2 separate regions of the Homo sapiens genome follow, and region 1 is linked to region 2. The links are contacts of gene promoters, found by promoter capture Hi-C in blood cells and fetal thymus (Javierre and others, 2016). All regions are on one chromosome and are shown on one strand. Each heading gives the region's core, a stretch centred on a gene start or on the middle of the fragment in contact. The rest is flanking DNA. Distances are from core to core; before and after follow the strand shown. Region 1 overlaps TRIM6 (tripartite motif containing 6). Region 2 holds the start of OR52E8 (olfactory receptor family 52 subfamily E member 8).

The links. The method cuts DNA at HindIII sites, captures the fragments that hold promoters and counts their contacts. A CHiCAGO score of 5 or more calls a contact.
Region 1: a contact is called between a fragment that was not itself captured here and the fragment with the promoter of OR52E8 in region 2, in 1 of 17 cell types (megakaryocytes). The highest score is 5.1, in megakaryocytes.

Annotation. Positions count from the first base shown.
Region 1 is chr11:5,605,733-5,609,979 of GRCh38, reverse strand. It overlaps TRIM6 (tripartite motif containing 6), which reads right to left. Exons shown (of 8, transcript NM_001003818.3): 5 at 1,586-1,608. It overlaps TRIM6-TRIM34 (TRIM6-TRIM34 readthrough), which reads right to left. Exons shown (of 14, transcript NM_001003819.4): 5 at 1,586-1,608. It also overlaps a transcript of TRIM5 not described here. Among named protein-coding and RNA genes, the nearest start is that of TRIM6-TRIM34, 11 kb to the right of the region's middle. The HindIII fragment of the contact is 260 bases long and covers 2,485-2,744 here.
Region 2 is chr11:5,856,229-5,861,740 of GRCh38, reverse strand. It overlaps OR52E8 (olfactory receptor family 52 subfamily E member 8), which reads left to right and starts at 4,051. Exons shown (of 1, transcript NM_001005168.3): 1 at 4,051-4,992. The coding sequence starts at 4,051. The coding sequence ends at 4,992. The HindIII fragment of the contact is 1,911 bases long and covers 3,184-5,094 here.

The sequences.
Region 1 (4,247 bases), core at 1,365-3,864, 250 kb after region 2:
TAGAAACTATCATCTCACCATCTACATAAACTTGTGTAAGATTTAACTTTTTTTTTTGAGAAGGAGTCTCGCTCTGTCACCCAGGCTGGAGTGCAGTGGCACGATCTCGGCTCACTGCAACCTCCACCTCCCAGGTTCAAGCGATTCTCCTGCCTCAGCCTTCTGAGTAGCTGGGACTACAGGCGCGTGCCACCACGCCTGGCTAATTTTCTTGTATATTTAGTAGAGATAGGGTTTCATCATGTTAGCCAGGATGGTTTTGATCTCCTGACCTCGTGATCTGCCCTCCTCAGCCTCCCAAAGTGCTGGGATTACAGGTGTGAGTCACTGCGCCTGTCCAAGATTTAACTTCTTAAAGTCTCATTTTGTTTTTCTGTTGTTGTTTTTAGAAAATACTATAATTTTCCTTTTTCTGTGTCCTAGAGATGTTATGCAGTTCAGTAAAATAATGGCTTGGAAATCTTTTGCTACCTCTAAAAAAAGATATAAAATATTTAAAATCAGAGGGGTTGAAGATGTCTGGGTTGACAGGCAGAACACCAGGGGCCTATTGCTGGGGCTTTGAAAGTATCAAATGAAGGGGTTTCTTCAGAAGAGTCTGTGGGCTTAGGCCCTGGGATTTCTCAGAAAACCTTCAAAACAGCATTTTAGGATTTGCCGTCTCTGGGAATGTTATGCCACTAGCTGGAGAAAAGATGTCCTCACCTCCAAACGGAGAGTACAGATTTCAGAAGGGACGATAGGGTTCCCATTTCGTGTGTCTGTGAGGAGCATGGAGGAACCAAGTGTGCAAGCAGCTTGACATGTCACCTTGTTGGATGAGACTCTGGAGTATGTGATAGAGAACATGTTTGATTCCCGGGCTAAATTATTATCCTCCAGAGCTCGGGTTTACGTTTTTACTGGAATTGAGACAAAAGAAAATCTACTAGGGAGCAAGGCCTGGGAGAAAGAAAAACTTAAGGCAGATGTGCCAAGACCAAATTCTTAGACCTTGAGAAATAATGCAGATGGGAATGTCACTCTGATAAAATTCACGGGCAGGAAGGTGCAGTGAGCCGAGATCACACCACTGCACTCCAGCCTGGGCGACAGAGTGAAACTCTGTCTCAAAAAAAAAAAAAAAAAAAAATTTATGGGCAAAGAAAATTCCTGTGTATTTTGAGGTAACTATAAACTTAAGAATCAGGGATGAAAGCAGGCACAGAGGTTTATGGAAAAGTACACTAACAGGGTACTTGGGGAGTCACTGATACTGCAACTCTTTATTCATTTTTTTTTGTTTGTTTGAGGCAGAGTCTCCCTTTGTCTCCCAGGCTGGAGTGCAGTGGCGCAATACTGCAACTCTTTATTCTAAATAACAGTACTGTCCCCACCTACTGACCTCCCATCACCCACATTTTCCTACCAGAGAGGCCAGTTCATCCCCTTTATTTGGGGATGCCAAAACTCCATGTGATGCGCGATTCAAGACTACTCTCTTGAATCTTCCCCACTCTGATTCTTCTTCCCTTTCCCACTGATCATGGGTAAAGGAATCATTTGTCAGTCCAGGGGAACTACCTCATGTTCTCCTTACACATACCTTTCTGTGACATCACTCACATCCTAGGAAGGAAAAAGACAGGTTAAGTCAAGGAGTAACAGGTCATGCCCTTATCCACATTTCTCCTTCCATGTCCCCTACCCCATGATATGATACAAATAAAGATAATCCTAATGTGGAGGCCACAAAGTAGAGAAAAAACTCAGGGCAGACTGTCCCTAAGAACCCATGTGAAGACATCAAAAAATAACTCAATTGACTCATCAGTGTCTTGATTTTCACAACATTGTGTGTGTGCATATGTGTGTGTAATGTTATGTATGTATAGCATGTATTATTTGTCAGGCATTGTGCCTGGCCTAGAGAACCTCAGATGATGAAGTCATAATTTCTATCCTTGAGTAGCTTACATCCTGTTCTGGTTGCTGAAGATACAGGCTCATGGACTTTATATATGGCTGTTTCTCAAACTTCACCTTCTCTAACCTTCTACCCTACCTTTGCTGACTTCATCCATTTCCTTCATTTTAATGTACACATGTTGATGATTCTCAAATCTGTACTTCTGCTCAGCCCCCTTTCCTTATGATTTTGATTAATATATACACCAGCAAATATGTCACAGGTACCTCAAATGCAAGATGTTTAAAAGAACTTAGTTCGGCAACTCTTGTCTCCCTTCCATCCTACTGAATCACACTAGCAACCACTTAAGTCACCAAATTTAAACAAAATAGGAAATAACTACCATATATTCACCCTGGCATCCTATCTTTGCCCAAGTCAGTCCACTTCACATCCTCAATTTCATTTGGTCACCAGTTGTTCACCTTTATCACTGCCACTGCTAGTCTCATTTCTGTGGAATTGGCCTATTCCTTTCTATTTGGTCTTTTTATCTTGTGCTCCATACATCTCAATGACCCCGAAGAAAAGCTTAAGTTTGGTCCACATAATACAGGATTAACTATTTTCTCTGTATTAGGGCTGTTTATGGTGGCATTTCATAGAGGCACAACTCAAACTGGCTTGAACATAGAATGTGGTAGAGGTGCTGTGTGTGTCAATTTGCAGTAAATATCCAGGATTGTATCAATCTTACATTGTGGCTGTACTGAGGAACTGAAATGATCAAATCGATGTGCTATTTCATGTGGCTACTTCTCTTATGTTGGCTTTATGTCCATATTTTGAAGCTTTTATCTTGGCTATAAAATATTTTTTTTTTTTGAGATGGAGTCTTGCTCTGTCGCCCAGGCTGGAGTGCAGTGGTGCGATCTCGGCTCACTGCACGCTCCGCCTCCTGGGTTCGCGCCATTCTCCTGCCTCAGCCTCCCGAGTAGCTGGGACTACAGGCGCCCGCCACCACGCCCGGCTAATTTTTTTGTGTTTTTAGTAGAGACGGGGTTTCACCGTGTTAGCCAGGATGGTCTCAATCTCCTGACCTCATGATCCGCCTGCCTCGGCCTCCCAAAGTGCTGGGATTACAGGCGTGAGCCACCGCGCTCGGCCTTGGCTATAAAATCTTAATGGGCAACAATTCACACAGATATGGAAAAGAGAAAGAACAATGTCTGTGATGGGAAAATTCCAGAAAGTTTATTTTTAGAAAAGACTACTCAAGTTTAAATGTCCGTGGGGCAGTCATACTAATGAATGTGGAAGTGTCTAAACTAGCAATATGAATTGACGATTCATTTGCATTTAAAAAATATTTACAGTTTGAGGACTGTTGAGGAGCCAGAACAAAAGGTGAAGGAGAAAGTATCAGGGTAATAATATCAATGATGAGGACAAAAAGGCAAGAAGAATAAAATGAAGATGCAAAGCAGGAAGCAGTGAATGAGAAAAAGCTGTAACAGGCAGAAAGTAGCTACCCATGGCTCTAATACTAAGACCCAAGAATATGTAAATAAACAATTATTCCACCAAGAAAGAAGGAGCAAGAGGAAAGCACGAAGACAAACAAAATATAAAGAATATCTTACACTCTGAAGGTTACAGAATATCACAAGCTACATCATGCCTCAAATTCACAACCACACTATTCATTCTATGCAGAAAATAGCTGCTAGAATTTCAACCTCAGTTCAAGTCCCTCCATCAAATCTCTCTAGGCTTGATACCTTGTAATCTGCGACCTACACACATACAGACCAGAGCCCAGACCCCCAAAACCAGTTCAAATATCAATTGCTACAGTATGTTAAATGATTCTGCTCTAGAGAAGAGAGTGAAAACAAAGAAGGGCTGGTAATACATCATCTCTAAGAATTTAGCTTGGCGTAAGTGTGCCTGTGACTAAGCTGGGTAAGAAGCACTTGGCAAATTCCCAACACAGCATCAGAGACGAGAGGTGCCTAATGAACAGTGGTTCTCAACTGGGAGAGCACTGTGTTCACCCTGGGGCTATCGTGGCAATGTCTGAAGAAATTTGGGGTTGTCACATCTGGGGTGGTGCTGCTGACATCTAGTGAGCAGAGGCCAGAGACGCTGCTAAGCATCCTACAATGTACAGGAGAACCCCACGCAGCAAAGAATTATCCAGCCAGAAATGTAAATAGTGCCAAGACTGAGAAAGAAAGAACAACATCACTGGATACAACAGAACTTCTCCACAGCATCAAATAAACTTTTAGACAACCCTTTATAAATAAAAATGGGACTTTCCCTTGCATTTGTACTCTGAATTATCTTACGC
Region 2 (5,512 bases), core at 2,802-5,301:
AATAGATATGCACACTGTAGAAGAGATTTCCAGAGAGTTGCCATCAAATGTCCATTGGTGGATGAATTGATAAAGAAAAGTACAATGGAATAGATGATGAGATATTGATTTCATGAAAAATTCTATCAAGGGGGTTTTAAAATGAGAAAATAAAATATTTTATTAGGACTAGAAAGAGAAATTTGAAGAAGAGAGAGTCAGGGAACTAACTGAAGAAGATGTGATAGAAGAATAAAGACAAAATCCCAAGTGTTTACCAAGAGTTTGGCAATTTAATTTTGAAGTGAGAAATTAAACATATTCTGTCAGTGTCAGTAAATGAATATAAAATTTGGGAAAAACAAGAGAACAATGATAAACTCTTGCCATATTGTTTCAGTATAAGGAGGAAGAGATTGAGAAGAGGAATTCTCCAGAGTCTATTAACTATACTACATCAACGCCTCCAAGATACTATGGTACCCATCCCAGGGGAAGTGGGGCTACAAGAACAGTATAAATATCTCCTATTGGCATAATAAATGGTGTACCCCAAGAATATGCCAAGGGATGTTTTGTAGAGATTTTGAGACTAAGGTAAGTTATATCATGGTTAGGCTGTGAAAAATACCAGGAGGGATGGAGAAAGAGCTCATGGCAAGCTAGTATGGAGAGATGCAGGAAAGGTGAAAGTATGACAAGATGAAGAGTGAATACACACTCATACTGATAAACACCTCAAACTGTATTTTTGCCTACACACACATATGACCATGCAAAGTCTCAGATGCAAAAGTAAAGTGTGAAAGCTGATGAGGAAGAAATTGTACCAATATATCCCATATCTCTTTAGCTATTATTTCTGACTCTATATATATATGTACACATGTGAACAGCAAAAGAGCAAGACTAGCTCTCTGTATTTTCTAGAACATACAAAATATAGCATAGGTGAAGATAGAATGATGGTTACCAGAAGCTGGGAATGGTAGTGGGGGACTGGGGGGAGGTGGGATGGTTAATGGGTACAAAAAATAGAAAGAATGAATAAGACCTAGTATTTGATAGCATAACAGAGTGAAGATAGTCAGTAATAATTATACATTTTAAAATAACTAAGAGTGCATTTGGATTGTTTGTAACTCAAAGGATAGATGCTTGAGGGGATGGATACCCCATTCTCCATGATGTGCTTATTTCACATTGCATGCTTGTATCAAAACATCTCATGTACCCATAAATATATATATCTATGATATGTACCCACAAAAATTAAAAATACAAATTTTAAAAATATGTTTTTAAATTAATTTATAAATAAATGAATCAGGAAGAAGCATGGCCCTGAGGAATAGACTTTTATGAACATAGACTCAGAGCTAGAGTGATAAAACATCTGAGAAATGGAATAAGGTTACATGATAGCAGGCTGGTCATGAGACTGTGAGATTAGATAAAGATGAGAAAACAGGTGTACATTATCTCTTTTACTTATGCTCATCTGTTCCAGGATGTGGGAATATGGATAGGTAGGGTGTGGTGGAGGTTGGTGCAATAGGGTAGATTAAGAAGATGACACACTGAGGACGTGGCTGCTGGATAGCTGGATATAATTCCATGTAGGACCTTAGAGTTAGGGAGTCAAAACAGGGGCTGAGAACCAATTTTATTTTTAAATCCAGCAGAGATTGGAAGATATGTAAATATGTGTTGAAATAATGGTTAAGTAAACATTTATTGGATAATTAATTGATTGGTTGCTTTGATCAGTATTTATAAACTTGGAAATGATGTTGTCCTAGGGAGAAGGGAAGCATTAATTTCCAAATCTTCTTTTAAAATCCACAGAGATACATGGGATAAGTTGCTATCCTTGGAATGTAGCCATATTTTTATTTTTTCAGTTCATGCTGTATGGAGCCCCTAAACATGACCAAGACATCAGACTTAATAAGAATCTCTGGATAAGACCATTGAAGAGGATGACTGATTTCATTTTTATATCCTAAGTGGCCACTGTGCTTTTTTTCCCACTTTGCCCCTGCTTATTTATACAGAATAAAATTTTCTTTCTTTTTTGTCAGAAGAATTTCTCTGTAAGTCAGCATAAGCCTAACTTCCTCTATACAATTTTTCTTGACTCACCTCTACATTTAAAACATCCTGTGCACATTTCTACCATAGCACTTGCAGTACAGTTCTTAAATTTCATGTTTGGAATTTTATCTTCTTTACTACGTGGTGATTTCCTTAAGGATATATGACCAGTTTTATTCATTTTTTGTATTTAAACTTCCTAATTACCACTGATACATAGAGAACCTCTTCAATATTTGATGGGATAAATTGTGAAAGGTATTTCGCTGCCTATTTTGTGTATTCTCAATTAGTGAAAAACAGGAAGTTTATACCCTTATCTCTGATAGTTTCACCCAAGTTTATACACACACATTCTCTCTCTCTCTCTCTCTCTGAAATAATTTCCCAAATTATCAAATAATCTCTCATTTTTGCTATTCTTCGTATGCTTCAAATAGGTACTACCAGCAATGCATTTTTGTTGTTACAGGATTAAAGTAGAACTTGCTGACATTCACACACTTTTATCTCTGCTGCGTACGTCTCAATTCTGACTTCCCCCAATGTTCAAGTATTCTTAAATTGTAATCAATGCTTTTTGTGTAGTTGCCACGTCACATTTAACCAATTCCGCATTATCTGTAAAACTAGTTTTTCCCAAGTAAAAGTAAGTTGCGCAGTAATGAACTTTTTGCTTCAAATTTTGAATTTACTATCTGTAAATTCAGGATTTACTATCCGTAAATTCAGGATTTACTATCTGTAAATTCAGGATTTACTATATTGGAGACATCCATAGAGACAAAACAGCTGGGATAGAATTTGAGTAGCAGCTAAACTGTAGGTCATCCAAAGGGCTTCTACTTTCTTCCCATGAATATAAGACTGAGATATATTTGAAAATTTTGTAGCCCAGAATATTTAGTTTCCTTGCCACAGAAAAAGCTGGCCTATATATAAACAGTTTCTTTACTGAATGCGTGTATTTATGCACTCTCCAAATAATAGGATTATCTAGATTAAAATTATCTCTTCATCCATGTTCCATCATAGCTGCAAAATACTCTTTGTCAAGTATTTTCTTTTCCTTGTTTTTACCCATTTTCCAAATCCGATGGATAAGCTTCTTTTCTCAAACACAGGTGTGATGGAAACTAAATTATTTATTTCCTAAAATATGACATTAAAATTACCCACAGTTTTGCCTCCTTGTAATCAATGTCTATTTGTGGAGGTTTTAAATTGAGAACTATTATGTAGCAGATCTTTTTCCTGCATATGAGCAAGATAAATTGTTTCTTCTCTCAGAAGTATACAGTCTAGTAGTCACAAATTGTATACAGTATACACAGTCTAAATTGTATACAGAAGTATACAGTCTAGTAGTCACAAACTGTATACAGTATATACAGCCTAAATTGTATACAGAAGTATACAGTCTAGTAGTCCCAAATTGTATACAGTATAGTCTAAATTGTATATAGAAGTATACAGTCTAGTAGTCACAAATACCTGTAAAAATGCATAACAACACAGAAACGGTTTTACACACTACATTTTTGATTCCCAAATAGAGGAATAGTTGAGATTACAAATACCTTGATCGTGAAGCAAAAATATGTGTAACATTTCTATAGACACTGACCCTGGAACTTTATTTTTCTCATTTAGTTCTGGCTAAATTCCAGATTTTGCATTTTTATTTGGCAGATGACATTCTTCTGCCATTTCTTTTTATATTAGTCTTTGATATTAGGTGAAGGGGCAGTAGAATAAGACTGGTTCTATTCCTGGTACCAATGTTGCTCAGGAGAGGCTAGGAGAAATTGTGGAGAGTATTTTACCTTACTCATGAATATATATAAAGAAAGATTAATATGTTATTGTGAATTTGACTAGAAATCTGAACAAAAGAAGAAGTGGAACAAGAATTACTAATAGGAATATTATAATCGTCGCTGGTGTGCCCAGCAGCTTTATATGGCAGGAAGAATGTCTACGTCTAATCACACCCAGTTCCATCCTTCTTCATTCCTACTGCTGGGTATCCCAGGGCTAGAAGATGTGCACATTTGGATTGGAGTCCCTTTTTTCTTTGTGTATCTTGTTGCACTCCTGGGAAACACTGCTCTCTTGTTTGTGATCCAGACTGAGCAGAGTCTCCATGAGCCTATGTACTACTTCCTGGCCATGTTGGATTCCATTGACCTGGGCTTGTCTACAGCCACCATCCCCAAAATGTTGGGCATCTTCTGGTTCAATACCAAAGAAATATCTTTTGGAGGCTGCCTTTCTCACATGTTCTTCATCCATTTCTTCACTGCTATGGAGAGCATTGTGTTGGTGGCCATGGCCTTTGACCGCTACATTGCCATTTGCAAACCTCTTCGGTACACCATGATCCTCACCAGCAAAATCATCAGCCTCATTGCAGGCATTGCTGTCCTGAGGAGCCTGTACATGGTTGTTCCACTGGTGTTTCTCCTTCTGAGGCTGCCCTTCTGTGGGCATCGTATCATCCCTCATACTTATTGTGAGCACATGGGCATTGCCCGTCTGGCCTGTGCCAGCATCAAAGTCAACATTAGGTTTGGCCTTGGCAACATATCTCTCTTGTTACTGGATGTTATCCTTATTATTCTCTCCTATGTCAGGATCCTGTATGCTGTCTTCTGCCTGCCCTCCTGGGAAGCTCGACTCAAAGCTCTCAACACCTGTGGTTCTCATATTGGTGTTATCTTAGCCTTTTTTACACCAGCATTTTTTTCATTCTTGACACATCGTTTTGGCCATAATATCCCACAGTATATACATATTATATTAGCCAACCTGTATGTGGTTGTCCCACCAGCCCTCAATCCTGTAATCTATGGAGTCAGGACAAAGCAGATTCGAGAGAGAGTGCTGAGGATTTTTCTCAAGACCAATCACTAACCAGTTGGAGGTTGGAGAGTCTGTCACTCTAACCTAATAGAAAGCAGAAAAACAGAAGGGAATGCTGCAGCCAATAACATTATTTATCTGTTAACTGAAGCTTTTGACTTTAATTATAATAATGAGAATTTTACCCTTGTCGAACTCTCCTTTTCCAAGTTCTTTTATTTCTATTGCTGGATCCTCAAGGCAGTTTTATAAAGTATGTATTAGTTTTTCCATTCTTGTGATTAATATACTTATGTTCGGAAAAGTTGAGTGATTTACTCAAACTACATGTTTAATAGGAAGTAGTAATTTAAGCCAAATAGACTGCCTTATAGTTTTCTTTAGTATGTTTAAGAAATAACAGAATACGGAATAAAATTCTTACTTTAAAAAGATAATAAACAGAATAAGTGGCTTCTAGAATTCTTAAAATAATAATAATAGCTTACTCTAGTAATAATATTAACATACCATAGATGCAGTGTAGATATATGGGTATTGACAGGTATACCACACATGAATATACTCATAT